Linked DNA regions of Homo sapiens: regions 1 and 2 are each linked to region 3. The links are contacts of gene promoters, found by promoter capture Hi-C in blood cells and fetal thymus (Javierre and others, 2016). All regions are on one chromosome and are shown on one strand. Each heading gives the region's core, a stretch centred on a gene start or on the middle of the fragment in contact. The rest is flanking DNA. Distances are from core to core; before and after follow the strand shown. Region 1 overlaps LINC01599 (long intergenic non-protein coding RNA 1599). Region 2 overlaps SOS2 (SOS Ras/Rho guanine nucleotide exchange factor 2). Region 3 holds the start of DNAAF2 (dynein axonemal assembly factor 2).

The links. Contacts are between HindIII fragments. The CHiCAGO score rates a contact against its expected background, and 5 or more counts as called.
Region 1: a fragment that was not itself captured here is called in contact with the fragment with the promoter of DNAAF2 in region 3 in 2 of 17 cell types (fetal thymus and naive CD8 T cells); the score reaches 6.6 in fetal thymus.
Region 2: a fragment that was not itself captured here is called in contact with the fragment with the promoter of DNAAF2 in region 3 in 1 of 17 cell types (erythroblasts); the score reaches 6.1 in erythroblasts.

What each region holds. Positions count from the first base shown.
Region 1 is chr14:50,094,728-50,099,223 of GRCh38, forward strand. The region is part of intron 1 of LINC01599 (long intergenic non-protein coding RNA 1599); the gene reads right to left. Among named protein-coding and RNA genes, the nearest start is that of LINC01599, 8.1 kb to the right of the region's middle. The HindIII fragment of the contact is 908 bases long and covers 1,470-2,377 here.
Region 2 is chr14:50,140,893-50,145,278 of GRCh38, forward strand. SOS2 (SOS Ras/Rho guanine nucleotide exchange factor 2) reads right to left here. Exons shown (of 23, transcript NM_006939.4): 16 at 4,278-4,386. Among named protein-coding and RNA genes, the nearest start is that of VCPKMT, 27 kb to the left of the region's middle. The HindIII fragment of the contact is 729 bases long and covers 1,693-2,421 here.
Region 3 is chr14:49,633,594-49,637,807 of GRCh38, forward strand. It overlaps DNAAF2 (dynein axonemal assembly factor 2), which reads right to left and starts at 1,651. Exons shown (of 3, transcript NM_018139.3): 1 at 1-1,651. The coding sequence starts at 1,556. RefSeq lists silencers at 213-482, 753-992, 1,223-1,272 and enhancers at 483-722, 535-1,295. The HindIII fragment of the contact is 6,803 bases long and covers 1-4,214 here.

The DNA.
Region 1 (4,496 bases), core at 674-3,173, 460 kb after region 3:
CAACAAGCGTGAGTTACAACACCTGGTCAGATTTTTTTTTTTTTTTAAAGAAAGGCAAAATTTATTATTAGACTCAAAATATTCACAACCATTTTCTTTTTTTTTTATACTTTAAGTTCTAGGGTACATGTGCACAACGTGCAGGTTTGTTACATAAGTATACATGTGCCATGTTGGTGTGCTGCACCCATTAACTCATCGTTTAACATTAGGTATATCTCCTAATGCTATCCCTCCTCCCTCCCCCGACCCCACAACAGGACCCTGTGTGTTGTGTTCCCCTTCCTGTGTCCAAGTGTTATCATTGTTCAATTCCCACCTATGAGTGAGAACATGCGGTGTTTGGTTTTCTGCCCTTGCGATAGTTTGCTGAGAATGATGGTTTCCAGCTTCATCCATGTCCCTACAAAGGACATGAACTCATCCTTTTTTATGGCTGCATAGTATTCTATAGTGTATATGTGCCACATTTTCTTAATCTAGTCTATCATTGATGGACATTTGGGTTGGTTCCAAGTCTTTGCTATTGTGAATAGTGACCTGGCCAGTTTTAAAACTTGCTCTCCTGGCCAGGTGCAGTGGCTCATGCCTGTAATCTCAGCACTTTGGGAGGCTGAGGTAGGAGAATCGCTTGAGCCCAGGAGTTCAAGACTAGCCTAGGCAAAGTAGCAAGACCTCATTTTGTTGTTGTTGTTGTTGATTTGTTTGTTTTAATAAGTTTTAAAAAAGAAAAAAGGCCAGGCACAGTGGCTTACACCTGTAATCCCAGCACTTTAGGAGTCCGAGGCAGGTGGATAGGCCAAGGCAGGCAGATCACCTGAGGTCGGGAGTTCCAGACCAGCCTGATCAACATGCAGAAACTCTGTCTCTTCTAAAAATACAAAATTAGCTGGGCATGGTGGCACATGCCTGTGATCCCAGCTACTCAGAAGGCTGAGGTAGGAGAATCATTTGAACCCAGGAGGCGGAGGTTGCGGCAGTGAGCCGAGATTGCGCCATTGCACTCCAGCCTGGGCGACAAGACCGAAACTCTGTCTCAGAAAAAACGAAAAGAAAAAACAAAACAAACAAACAAAAAAACACTTGCTCTCCAGATGGCAAACCTCACTGCCCAAGTACCTCTCCTAATACATGTTGCAATTCTCCCTCCACTTCTCAGGAACCCCCATAATCATGGGGGTTAGAACCAAGCCCCAGAATCTACCTCCTTATGTAAGCTACTCATTTTCTCATCTCTTGAGTTATTCTCACTAAATAATGATCCCTTGATTGGGGGATGGAGAGGTGCAGGCTTGAACACTTTCTGGGTGCAAAGAAGTACATTTCCTCTTTTGTTACATTTAAATCAAACCACTCCCACAGCAGGTTTTTGTTTCCTCCCTTTTACTTTCTGATGAGTTTCATAACGCTTACTTTTGTAGTTTGATAAGATCTCCACAGTATGATCAGCAACCAACACTATTCTAGAAAGCTTCTAAATCAACTGTTAAGATGATCTGGTGGGTATTATGGACAAAATGCAAACTTAAAAAGCAGATTACTTTCTGGGAAGGTAATGATTGAGAAGGATCTTAAGAGTAGGGTTTAATGGGCTGAAAGGTTTGAATGCTCTACCAGTTAGGATCTGATCCACTGCAAGGGAGAGAAACCCAGCCCCAAACCAGCAGAACAGAGTTAACTAGGTGAGGTAACTGGGAAGTCCAGGAGCTGCGGTGGCTTTAGACATAGCTGGCTTCAGAGACTCAAACAGAATCATCGGAAAAACGTTCTAATTTCTCTGTTTGCTTCTAGACTCTGCTTTCCTCTATCTTGACTTTTACTCTTGAGCAGCTCAAAACTTACTTTATCCTTGGCACTAGCTACCCCAGAAAAGAAGGGCCTCTTATGCAGGGGGAATCCTGTGGGTTAGCCTCGGTCAGGAAACCCAAGTCTCTCCTGAACTTGGTGGGCTATTGGGAGTAGCATGATGAAAAGTCTGGAACCCCAGGTTAGGAGTACGCTCTGCCACCACCGCCTGCACAGATAAGTGTAGAGAGATATTGAAGGTGGGGAGACTATTAGAGGAGTGAGGCCCAACCTGAGGTGATGATGGCCGTGAAGATGGAAAGTGGGGGAAGACTGTGAGAACCCATCACAGATCAGTGTATGACACGCTGAGTTCATGTGAGGCAGAAGAAATTAGAAATGCTAAAAGAATGGTGATGCCATTAGTAAAACAAGAATATGAGGCAGAAGAGTCTATTTTTGCAGAAATTTTGCTAAGACATACTCTTGGTTGGGCAAGCAAAGGAAGACATCAGGCAGGCAGCTGAAGGGGAGAGGTCAGACTTAAGAGAGGGATCGGAGCTAGAGGTCTAGAGAGGGGGCCTCTACAATAAGCTTGTAGTTGGAATCATGAAAATTGCAAGATCTATGTGTGCAGAGGTGAGTGGTCAAAAGACAGAGCCCCAGGGAATTGTGAGTTAAGCAACAGAGAAGGAAAAGGAACGAAGGATGGTGACGGAGGAGCAACCAGACGCTGGGCGGAGAAAGTCAGACCTACTTAAGTCAAATAGGAGAAAAGTTCCAGTATCAAAAAGAAAAAGAAATAGATCCACATGTTCAACAATATTTCCAATATTGGTTCTATACTCATATTTTCCTCATTCCTTTTCATAAGTGAACTCACAATCAAACTAAGTCCAACGAGCAGCTATTGAGGCTACAAGATTTACTGCTTTCTGAATACCAGTGGCTTCCATCCTAAGTTGTATTCATCTGAGACCTGAGTTGCTTATCATTAGTAACAACATATTCATTTTGGGGTCTTCTCTCATTTTTTTTAGAACAAGGACCAGGTATTAAAACAGCTGCCCAAGTACCAAGGTGCAAAGATGGCACTGCTGCAGATAGCTAAGCTGCTAAGCAGGCAGCATCATTATGTTGACTTGGGGGCAGATGTATAAAATCTAATCCTGGCAGATGAAAGTCAGGTTGGAAGTCTCAGTGTATGAAATACAAAAATGGGAGCTATATGACCATCAACCTGTTTGAGAACTGACTGTCCCTGGAGTCAAGGCAGAAGATATTTCAGTATTTCACCTTTAAGTGTTCTGTTTTTTTCCAATAATTCCTTGAATTTTGGTACTTCCCAGGGCCTTAACCTGGGCTTTCCCCCAATCTATACATTTGGGGTGATCTATAAGACCTCAACTTGGCTGGGCACGGTGGCTCACGTCTGTAATCCCAGCACTTTGAGAGGCTGAGGCAGGTGGATGGCCTGAGGTCAGGAGTTCGAGACCAGCCCGGACAACATGGCGAAACCCCGTCTCTACTAAAAATACAAAAATTAGCCGGGTGTGGTGGCACGCGCCTGTAATCCCAGCTACTCAGGAGGGTGAGGCAGGAGAATCGCTTGAATCTGGGAGACAGAGGTTGCAGTAAGCCAAGATAGCACCACTGCACTCCAGCCTGGGCTACAGAATGAGACTCTGTCTTGCCAAAAAAAAAAAAAAAAAAAAAGAAAAGACATCATCTTTCTCAGTCCACCCTCTCTTCTGCCCCCAAACCTATATACGGTCATCCCTCAGTATCCATGGGGAATTGATTCCAGGACCACCCACAGATATCAAAATCCACAGATGTTCAAGTCCTTTGTATAAAATAGTGTAGTATTTGCATATAACCTATACACATCCTCCCATATAGCTTATTACTTTTTTATTGGACTGAATTTATTTTTTTATCTTCAGCTTTTAAATTCAGGGGTACATGTGCAGGATGTGCAGGTTTGTTGCATAGGTAAACGTGTGTCATGGTGGTTTGCTGCACAGATCATCCCATCACCTAGGTATTAAGCCCAGCATCCATTTGCTATGTGTTTGCCCTCCACACCCACCCCCTACCCCCATATAGTTTAAATCATCTCTAGACTACTTATAATACCTAATACAATGTAAATGTTATGTAAATAGTTGTTATACTGTCTTGTATAGGGAATAATGACAAGAAAAACTCCGTCTGTACATGTTCAGTACAGACACAACCATCTATTTTTTTTCCCGAATATTTTCAACCTGTGTTTGGTTGAAACCCATGGAACTCACATATACAGAGGACCGCTTGTGTTTAGCTGCCTATTACATACATGTAACCAGGGTCACAGTGTGTGGCCACTCAGGCTGGGTACAGCAAAGAGCAACATTGGAAGGGGACACCATTCACACTGTAGACATCATTATTGTTTTGAAGTTAAAACCAAAAATTAAAACAGTTGATTCCAAACTTACATGATTTATATACAGGACAATTTTCTGGCAAAGGACAGTAAAGTCTCTAGTTCTAATAAAATTAATGTTATTACAATTCTTTTCAAAATAAAAGTGTTTTAAAGAAAAGGGACTCTGACCTGCAGAAGGGCAGCATGAGGACCGTGGAGGCCTTGACCCCATCAGGATGCACCGCGGGCCCCTACACAACTTACTGTATCTGCCTTAGTCTAGCTCCACAGCAGTTCT
Region 2 (4,386 bases), core at 807-3,306, 510 kb after region 3:
AAAGAAATCAGGATTTAAAAAAAATTCTGAGGCCAGGTGCAGTGGCTCACGCCTGTAATCCCAGCACTTTGGGAGGCTGAGGCGGGCGGATCATGAGGTCAGGGGATCAAGACCATCCTGGCTAACACGGTGAAACCCCGTCTCTACTAAAAATGCAAAAAATTAGCCGGGCGTGGTGGCGGGTGCCTGTAGTCCCAGCTACTCGGGAGGCTGAGGCAGGAGAATGCCATGAACCTGGGAGGTGGAGCTTGCCGTGAGCCGAGATTGTGCCACTGCACTCCAGCCTGGGTGACAGAGCGAGACTCTGTCTCAAAAAAAAAAAAAAAAAAAAAAAAAAAAAATTCTGGTCAAGTGCAGTGGCTCACACCTGTAATCCCAGCACTTTGAGATGTTGGGGTGGGAGAATAGTTTGAGGCCAGGAGTTCGAAACCAGTCTGCGCAACATAGCAACGCCCAATCTCCACATAAAATTTAAAAAATTAGCTGAGCAGGGTGGCACGTGCCTATAGTCCCCACTACTCAGGAGACTAAGGTAGGAAGACTGTTTGAGCCTGGGAATAGGAGGCTGCAGTAAGCTATGATCATGCCACTGTACTCCAGCCTGGGTGACAGAGCATGACCCTGTCTCTAAGGGTCACTGAAAACAAAATAATTCTAATATACATCTAGCAAAAGAGGTATGCGATCTCTGTCAAAACAAAAAAAACCCCACAAAACTTTATTAACTGAGTAAATAAAGAGATAAACGATGTTCACAGTTGAAAAGACTTGTTACTATAAAAATGTCAGTTCTTCACTAATCTGTAATTGGATTTAGAGAGCCAATGCAACTCCTATCAAAATGCCAATTTAAAAAAATGGAGCTTAAATTGATTCTAAAATGTATATAGGAGAACAAAGAACCAAGAATACGTTCCTCCTGAAAAAGAGTAAGATTGGCGAGGATTTGCCCTACTCTTCTCTATCAAGGACTACTATAAAGTTATGATAGTTTAGACTAGTGGCACTGGCACAAGAGTGATCAAATAGATCAAAGGAACAGAACAGAGAGACCAACAAAAGGCCTACAGATATAGGCATTCAATTTATGACACATTTATTAAATACATTAATATTTCTTTTTTTTTTTTTTTGAGATGGAATCTTGCTCTGTCGCACAGGCTGGAGTGCAGTGGTGCGATCTCGGCTCACTGGAACCTCTGCCTCCCGGGTTCAAGTGATTCTCCTGCCTCAGCCTCCCAAGTAGCTGGGATTACAGGCGCCCGCCAGCATGCCTGGGTAATTTTTATATTTTTAGTAAAGACGGGGTTTCATCATGTTGGCCAGGCTGGTCTCAAACTCCTGGCCTCATGTGATCCACCCACCTCAGCCTCCCAAAGTGTTGGGATTACAGGCATGAGCCACTGCCCCCGGCCTATTTCATAATATTTGACTAAGTATTAATATCTTTAACATATAAAGTTCATACAAATCAATAAAATGCAAACACCCAAACAGAAAAATATATGTATAAAGCAGTTTTTCCTCTATTCCCCTCTAATAACAACCCACTAAAAAAAATAAATAAATAATGTTAAAAGAGGAGTATGTAACCTCCCACATTATTCTCAATACTTATCCAGTTCCACTTAGAGGTTTGGGGTTTGCTCTGCTTTGTGATACTAAAATGGAATAATATTATAGTCATTCTGAAGCTTTTCCCCTGCTGAAATATCACAAATGTTCTTCCACAACAATACACATAGATCCCATTCACTTTGTTGTATAGCTGAACAATATTCTACAATAGAGGTATAAGAGGATGTATTTAATCATTCTCTTACTGATAGACATTCAGGTTGTTTCCTGTTTTCTGCTACTACAACTAATGCTGCAGTAACTATATCTTTGTACATATAACTTTATACTCTGGTGTGTTTATTTCTTTGCAATTCTGGGTCCTAAGAGTATGCACATTTTTAATTTTAACATATATTGTTAGACTGCTTTCCAGAAAGATTGTAAAAACGCACATTCCCAAAAGCAGTATTTATATGGCTGAGTTTCTAACTTGTTATCCTTTACTTAAAAAAAGTCTTTCCAGGTACAAAAGCAAAGGAAGAAACCATAAGTGAAGAGACTGATATGTGCAACTAAATAAAAATGATAAAACGTCCTTATGTCAAAGCATTATACATTTTTTAAATTAAAAAGCAGATAAAAGACAAACAGAAATGAGAATATATGTACAGTCTAAGTTTTAATATCTTTAATATATGAAAAATCCATATAAATGAATAAAATGCAGCTGGACATGCTGACTAATGCCTGTAATCGCAGCTACTCAAGAGGCTGGGACAGGACGATCCCTTGAGCCCAGGAGTTCGAGACTGCAGTGGGCTATGATCATGCCACTGGCACTCCAGCCTGGGTGACAGAGCAAGCTTGACTCTTTAGGAAAAAAAAAAAAAAAAAATCAACAAAATGAAAACACCCTCCCCCAAAAATGAGAGAGGCAATGAATACATAAATCATAAAGTACCCAATAAATACATATTCAACCTCACTAGTTATTATTTATTTTGAGAACAAGTTTCACTCTGTTGCCCAGGCTAGAGTGCAGTGGGGCAATCTTGGCTCACTGCAACCTCCACCAGGCAGGTTCAAGCGATACCCCTGCCTCAGCCTCCTGAGTAGCTGGGATTGCAAACCAGCACATACCACCATGCCTGACTAATTTTTGTACTTTTAGTAGAGATGGGGTTTCATCATGTTAGCCAGGCTGGTATCGAACTCCTGACCTCAGGTGATCCACCCGCCTCGGCCTCCCAAAGTGCTAGGATTACAGGTGAGCCACTGAGCCCAGCCTCACTAGTTATTTTTTAACATACAATTTAAAAATGCAGTGCGATTTCTGCCCCCGCCAGAGGCATGCAACACCATGCCTGGCTATTTTTTTTTTTTTTTTGTAGAGATGTGGTCTCCCTATGTTGCCCAGGCTGGTCTCAAACTCCTGGGCTCAAGTGATCCTCCTGTCTCTGCCTCCCAAAGTGTTGGGATTACAGGTGAGAGCCCCCACACCTGGCCAAAAGCTTTTAATATAATACATAATACCAAGGGGCATTTATCGTATCCTGCTACGAAACACCTTGGCAAAAGTATTTAAAGTCTTAAAGTATATAAATACTCAGACCCAGGATTTCCACCCCTAGATTATTTCTAGGGAAATAATCAAGCTCTTAAAAAGACTTCTACATATGAATATTCCATGATAAATTATCACAGAAAAAAATCAGAAATAACTTAATTGTCCCACAATCTACTGTTGGAATAAATTATGATTTATCCATGATAGAAAACCTTGATGCCATTAAAATCTTGTTTTTGAAGATAAGCTAATAAAAAAATAGAAAACTGTTTATGAGAAAAGGGCCATAAAAATCTATGCACAATGTAATCTCAATTTTGTTATTAAAATATATATGCAAAATATCTTCCTATTTTCTATATCTCCTGAATTTTCAATAGTACATGTTAAACACATATTTTATAATTTAAAAAATATATATATTTTTTAATTTTTTGAGACTGAGTCTCACTGTGTCGCCCAGCCTGGAGTGCAGTGGTGTGATCTCAGCTCACTGCAAATGCTGCCTCCTGAGTTCAAGCAATTCTCCTGTCTCAGCCTCCGAAGTAGCTGGGATAACAGGCGTGCGCCACCATGCCCAGCTAATTTTTGTATTTTTAGTAGAGATGGGGTTTCGCCGCGTTGTCCAGGTTGGTTTCGAACTCCTGAGCTCAGGTGATCGACCCGCCTCAGCCTCCTAAAGTGCTGGGATTACAGGCGTGAGCCACCACGCCTGGCCAAATTTAAGTTTTTGAAATAGTTCTTCCCGTGTTATACTATTGTTGACTACCTAAAGGTAATTAAGACATTACTTGTATTTTTATATTTAAAATCCTTTGTCATTTGAGACTATCAATCAATGTGTTATTGAATAAATCCACTTGGAACTTCATTACATTTAGGTTAAGTACATTACACGGCAGTGCAAGTCTCATATTGTTTATTGAATATTGATATATTTTCTAATATAAGCCTAGGATTCACATATTATATATCATATTCATATATTAACTAATATATCAACATATTTTCTAATATATTTATATCATATTTATGAAGCAAGGATGAATTTACAAAGAATTTAATTAAAAAGACAGATGATAGATGAAATTTCTTTTATGCTAATTTCATCATCCCCGAGAAAAATGAAAAAGTTAAGCCTAAAACTTACCTCAAAGGTATGGTCTAGTCTGTATACTGACACTGAATTTACTGCACTGACTATCTCCAATACGCCATTGAAATTATTCAAATCTTGAAAAACTTGCAGAATTTCTATA
Region 3 (4,214 bases), core at 401-2,900:
TCCCCGCTCTTGGTCCCGGGACCACCCATGGCGCAGGCTGAGCGCTGGCCGCCCGTGCCCTCCGACTCCTCGCGTGTTTCCACACTGCTATCTCCGCGCGCACTCTCTCTTCCCGCAGAAGAACCCCACGCCAGGCTCCGGGAGGACAAACAAGGGGAGCCTCCGCCACCAGGTGAGTTTTCTCCTCCAGGAGATGGCTCCTCCACGCTGCCCGGCGGTGACCCCGCGTGCCTGCTCAAGTCCTGCTCCCCCGGCTTGGGGACACGCTCCTCTCCAGCTGCGGCCGGCGGAGGCGCCACCTCCGGGTCGCCCAGGGTGGTGACCCCGGAGCCCGCAGCCCCAGCCACGCAGGTATCGTGGCCTCCGTCCTCCGCGCGACTCCTCGCGGGTCCCGCCTCCCCCTCGCGAGCGGAAGCGCAGGCCTGGCCGTCAGTTCCGGACCGGTCCGCGGACTCTTCCGGCGCGGCGGCGGCGACGGCGACAGCGGGCTCCCGGCGCGCGGCCGGCAGCACCACTGGCAGCGTAACCACCAGCTGCCGCCGGGCCTTGTTGAATTGTGCCTTGCCGCGGCCATCGTCCACTGGGTACGGGAGCGAGAGCCGCAGCCGGTAGTCAGGTTTCCTCGAGTCGAGGCACAGCAGCTTTCTCGTTACCTCCAGCGCCGCCTGCTCGGCCGAGCGCAACAGCGGCAGTTCGATGGTGATCACCAGCTCATGGGGCACGGGGCTCGGGGCTGAGTCCCTGGAGCAGCGGTAATCCTGGAGGTCCACGTGGTGGCGCTGCACCACGCTGTAGCGAGGCTCGGTGGGGGCGGGCTGCAAGGCCGCTTCCGGAGGGGAGGGCGCCCGGGGCCCGGGGGCTGCCGGGTACTGGTAAGGGTAGGGGAAGTCCGGGAGAGGACCCTTCGGCTCCCCGTCAGGCCTTGCGGGGATGACCCCGGGCAGGGGCGTGCGCAGCACCGCAGCCTCTGGGGTCCCCTTATACTTGGCCTTCAGGGTCTTGGCATTCCTGCGGTCCAGCTTCACGCCGAACTGCTTCTCGACGGCCTCCAGGGCCGTGGCGTCCAGCATCTGGCGGAAGCCCTCGTGCCGCCGGGCCAGCGCAAGCGCGTCTGGATGGAAGACCACGTCGTAGACCATGTAGCGGCTGCTGCTGCGCCCCGCGTACTCGCGGCCGGGCGCCAGGCTGTAGGGCAGGGACCAGTGGCTGCCAGGAGCTGCGCCCCGGTCGCCACCGGAGCCGGGCCGGCTGCTGGGCGCGCCCACCAACGCGTTGCTGCAGACATTCACAAAGCAGCGCCGCGCCCCGTCCAGGCTGGTGCGCAGCACATGGCCGGGCTCCGGGTGCACGAACCGCACTTCCACCCCGCGCTCACGCTCTAGCGCGGTGATCTCCGCCTCGTAGCGCCGCCGGTTCTCCGGGTCGGTGAGCTCCTCGGCGTACTGGGAGAACATTCGCCGGAACTCCGGGTCCTGGAAGGCGGAGGTGAGCCGCTGGACCTCCTCTCCGCTCAGGTCCAAGTCCTCCAGCGACGAGGAGGCCGCCGCTTTGGCCATACTGTCCTGTGGCTCCTCGCCCTCGGGCCAAAGGCGATCAGTCTGACACTGGGTTGGGGGATCCGCCTCAGAGTTTCTGGGCAGCGTACAGTGACGCGGTGGAGGTCGGTAACGGCTGGAAAATTGAGCCTTGAGCAGCGCGTGCTTGTTGTCATAGTTACACCACTAACATTCGGGAGGAGGGGTAGAGATCATGGTGGAATAGGCCGGGCGCGGTGGCTCAGGCCTGTAATCCCAGCACTTTGGGAAGCCTAGGCGGGCGGATCACGAGGTCAGGAGATCGAGACCATCCTGGCTAACACGGTGAAACCCCGTCTCTACTAAAAATACAAAAAATTAGCCGGGCATGGTGGCGGGTGCCTGTAGTCCCAGCTACTCGGAAGGCTGAGGCAGTAGAATGGGGTGAAACCCAGGAGGCAGAGCTCTTGCGGTGAGCCAAGATCGCGCCACTGCACTCCGGCCTGGGCGACAGAGCAAGTCTCTCAAGGAAATCATGGTGGAATAGTGGAAATGCCAGAAATAGCCCTCTTAGATTCTTCAAACCAACCCACCACCGTACTTTGTTTTGTTTTGTTTTGTTTTTCTTTTTTTGAGACAGAGTCTCGCTCTGTCACCCAGGCTGGAGTGCAGTGGCGCAGTTTCGGCTCACTGCAAGCTCCACCTCCCAGGTTCACGCCACTCTCCTGCCTCAGCCTCCCGAGCAGCTGGGACTACAGGCGCCTGCCACTACGCCCAGCTAATGTTTTGTATTTTTACTAGAGACAGGGTTTCACCGTGTTAGCCAGGATGGTCTCGATCTCCTGACTTCGTGATCCGCCCGCCTCGGCCTCCCAGAGTGCTGGGATTATAGGATTACAGGCATGAGCCACCACACCAGGTCCAAAACCTTTTTTTTTTTTTTTTTTTTTTTGAGGCTGTCTCACTCTGTCACCCAGGCTGGAGTGCAGTGGTGCAGTCTTGGCTCACTGCAACCTCCGCCTCCCGGGTTCAGGCAATTCTCCCTGCCTCAGCCTCCCAGGTAGCTGGGATTACAGTGACTCACCACCACGTCCGGCTAAGTTTTGTATTTTTAGTAGGGATGGGATTTCACCATGTTGGCCAGGCTGGTCTCCCACTCTTGACCTCATGTGATCTGCCCACCTCAGCCTCCCAAAGTGCTGGGATTACAGGCATGAGCCACCGCGCCCGGCCTAAAACCTTTCTAATGTGCATATTTTTTTGACCCAAATGCCCTTAGAGTATTTGACACAATACTCTTAGAACATTCTCAAGGTGACATCATTTATGATTCTAAAGGTTTGAGAAGAATCTACAAATTCAACAATGGAACTGATTGAGCAGGTTTTGGTAGAGCCACGCAACAGAGTTTTGTGCAACCATTCAAAATGATCATATGGAAGTATATTTATTTACTGGAGTAATTATTTATTCATTGGTAATTGGTCAATTCAGTGATCATTTTTCTATTCTCAGCAACATTTAACACAGTTGATGTTGGCATTACCTCAGTGACAAGACACTTTCCAGATTTCTCTTCTGTCTCATCACTCTCATAGTTTTGCTCTGTAGGTATCTACTTCTTTTCAACTTCTACATGGAAATGCCCCAAAACTGGGACCCAATCTCTTACCCATCTATACTCTCCTTCAGAAATATATTTACACTCACAAATACTTGTCTTAGACTCAGATTTTACACTCCTATATCCAGCTGCACGTTTGAGGTGTCCATTTGAGTGATTAATGCATAAGCTACTCAGGCTTGAAATGACCAAGATCAGAACTCCTGAATCCTCTTTTCCCAAACCACTGCCTTATCTTATGGTCTCTTGGAAGCATTCAAAGCAGTTGACTGCCCCTTCGAAACACATTTTTCTCATGTTTTGCAGAACTCCAAGCTCTCCCATTTTCCTCCTTTATGCTCCTGCCAGTTCTGCAAATGTGGGAGTTGCCCAAGGCTTTGTTCATCAGCCCTCTTACCTAATCACATTTCTTCCAAGATGTCTTATCCAAGCCCATAGTTTTAAATGCCATCTGTGTTCAAATTAGTCCTTTCAACAGATATTTATTGTGTGCTTATTGCACTTATTATATAGGTAATTAACAAAGATGTGAAGCAGTTGCATTGCTTTTTTTTTTGAGACAGAGTCTTGCTCTGTCGCCTAGACTGGGGTGCTTTGGCGCGATCTTGGCTCACTGCAACCTCCGCCTCCTGGGTTCAAACAATTCTCCTGCCTCAGCCTCCCAAGTAGCTGGGATTGCAGGCACCTACCACTGCGCCCAGCTAATTTTTGTATTTTTTAGTAGAGATGGGATTTCACCATGTTGGTCAGGCTGGTCTCCAACTCCTGAGCTCAGGTGATCCGCCCACCTCGGCTTCCCAAAGTGCTGGGATTACAGGCACAAGCCACCATGCCCAGCCAGCAATTGCACTTTCATATCCTGGGAGTATATATTGGAACACTGTTAACATAAGGCTTACGACAATGAAATTCTCCCAGATACACATTCAACAGAAACACATATCCCCACCAAAACACATGTACTACAATGTGTGTATTCATAGCGGCACTATTTCATAGTTGACAAATTCTGGAAGCAACCCAAATTCTCATTCATAGTAGAATGGATAAATGTAAATATCCACCCACACAATGCA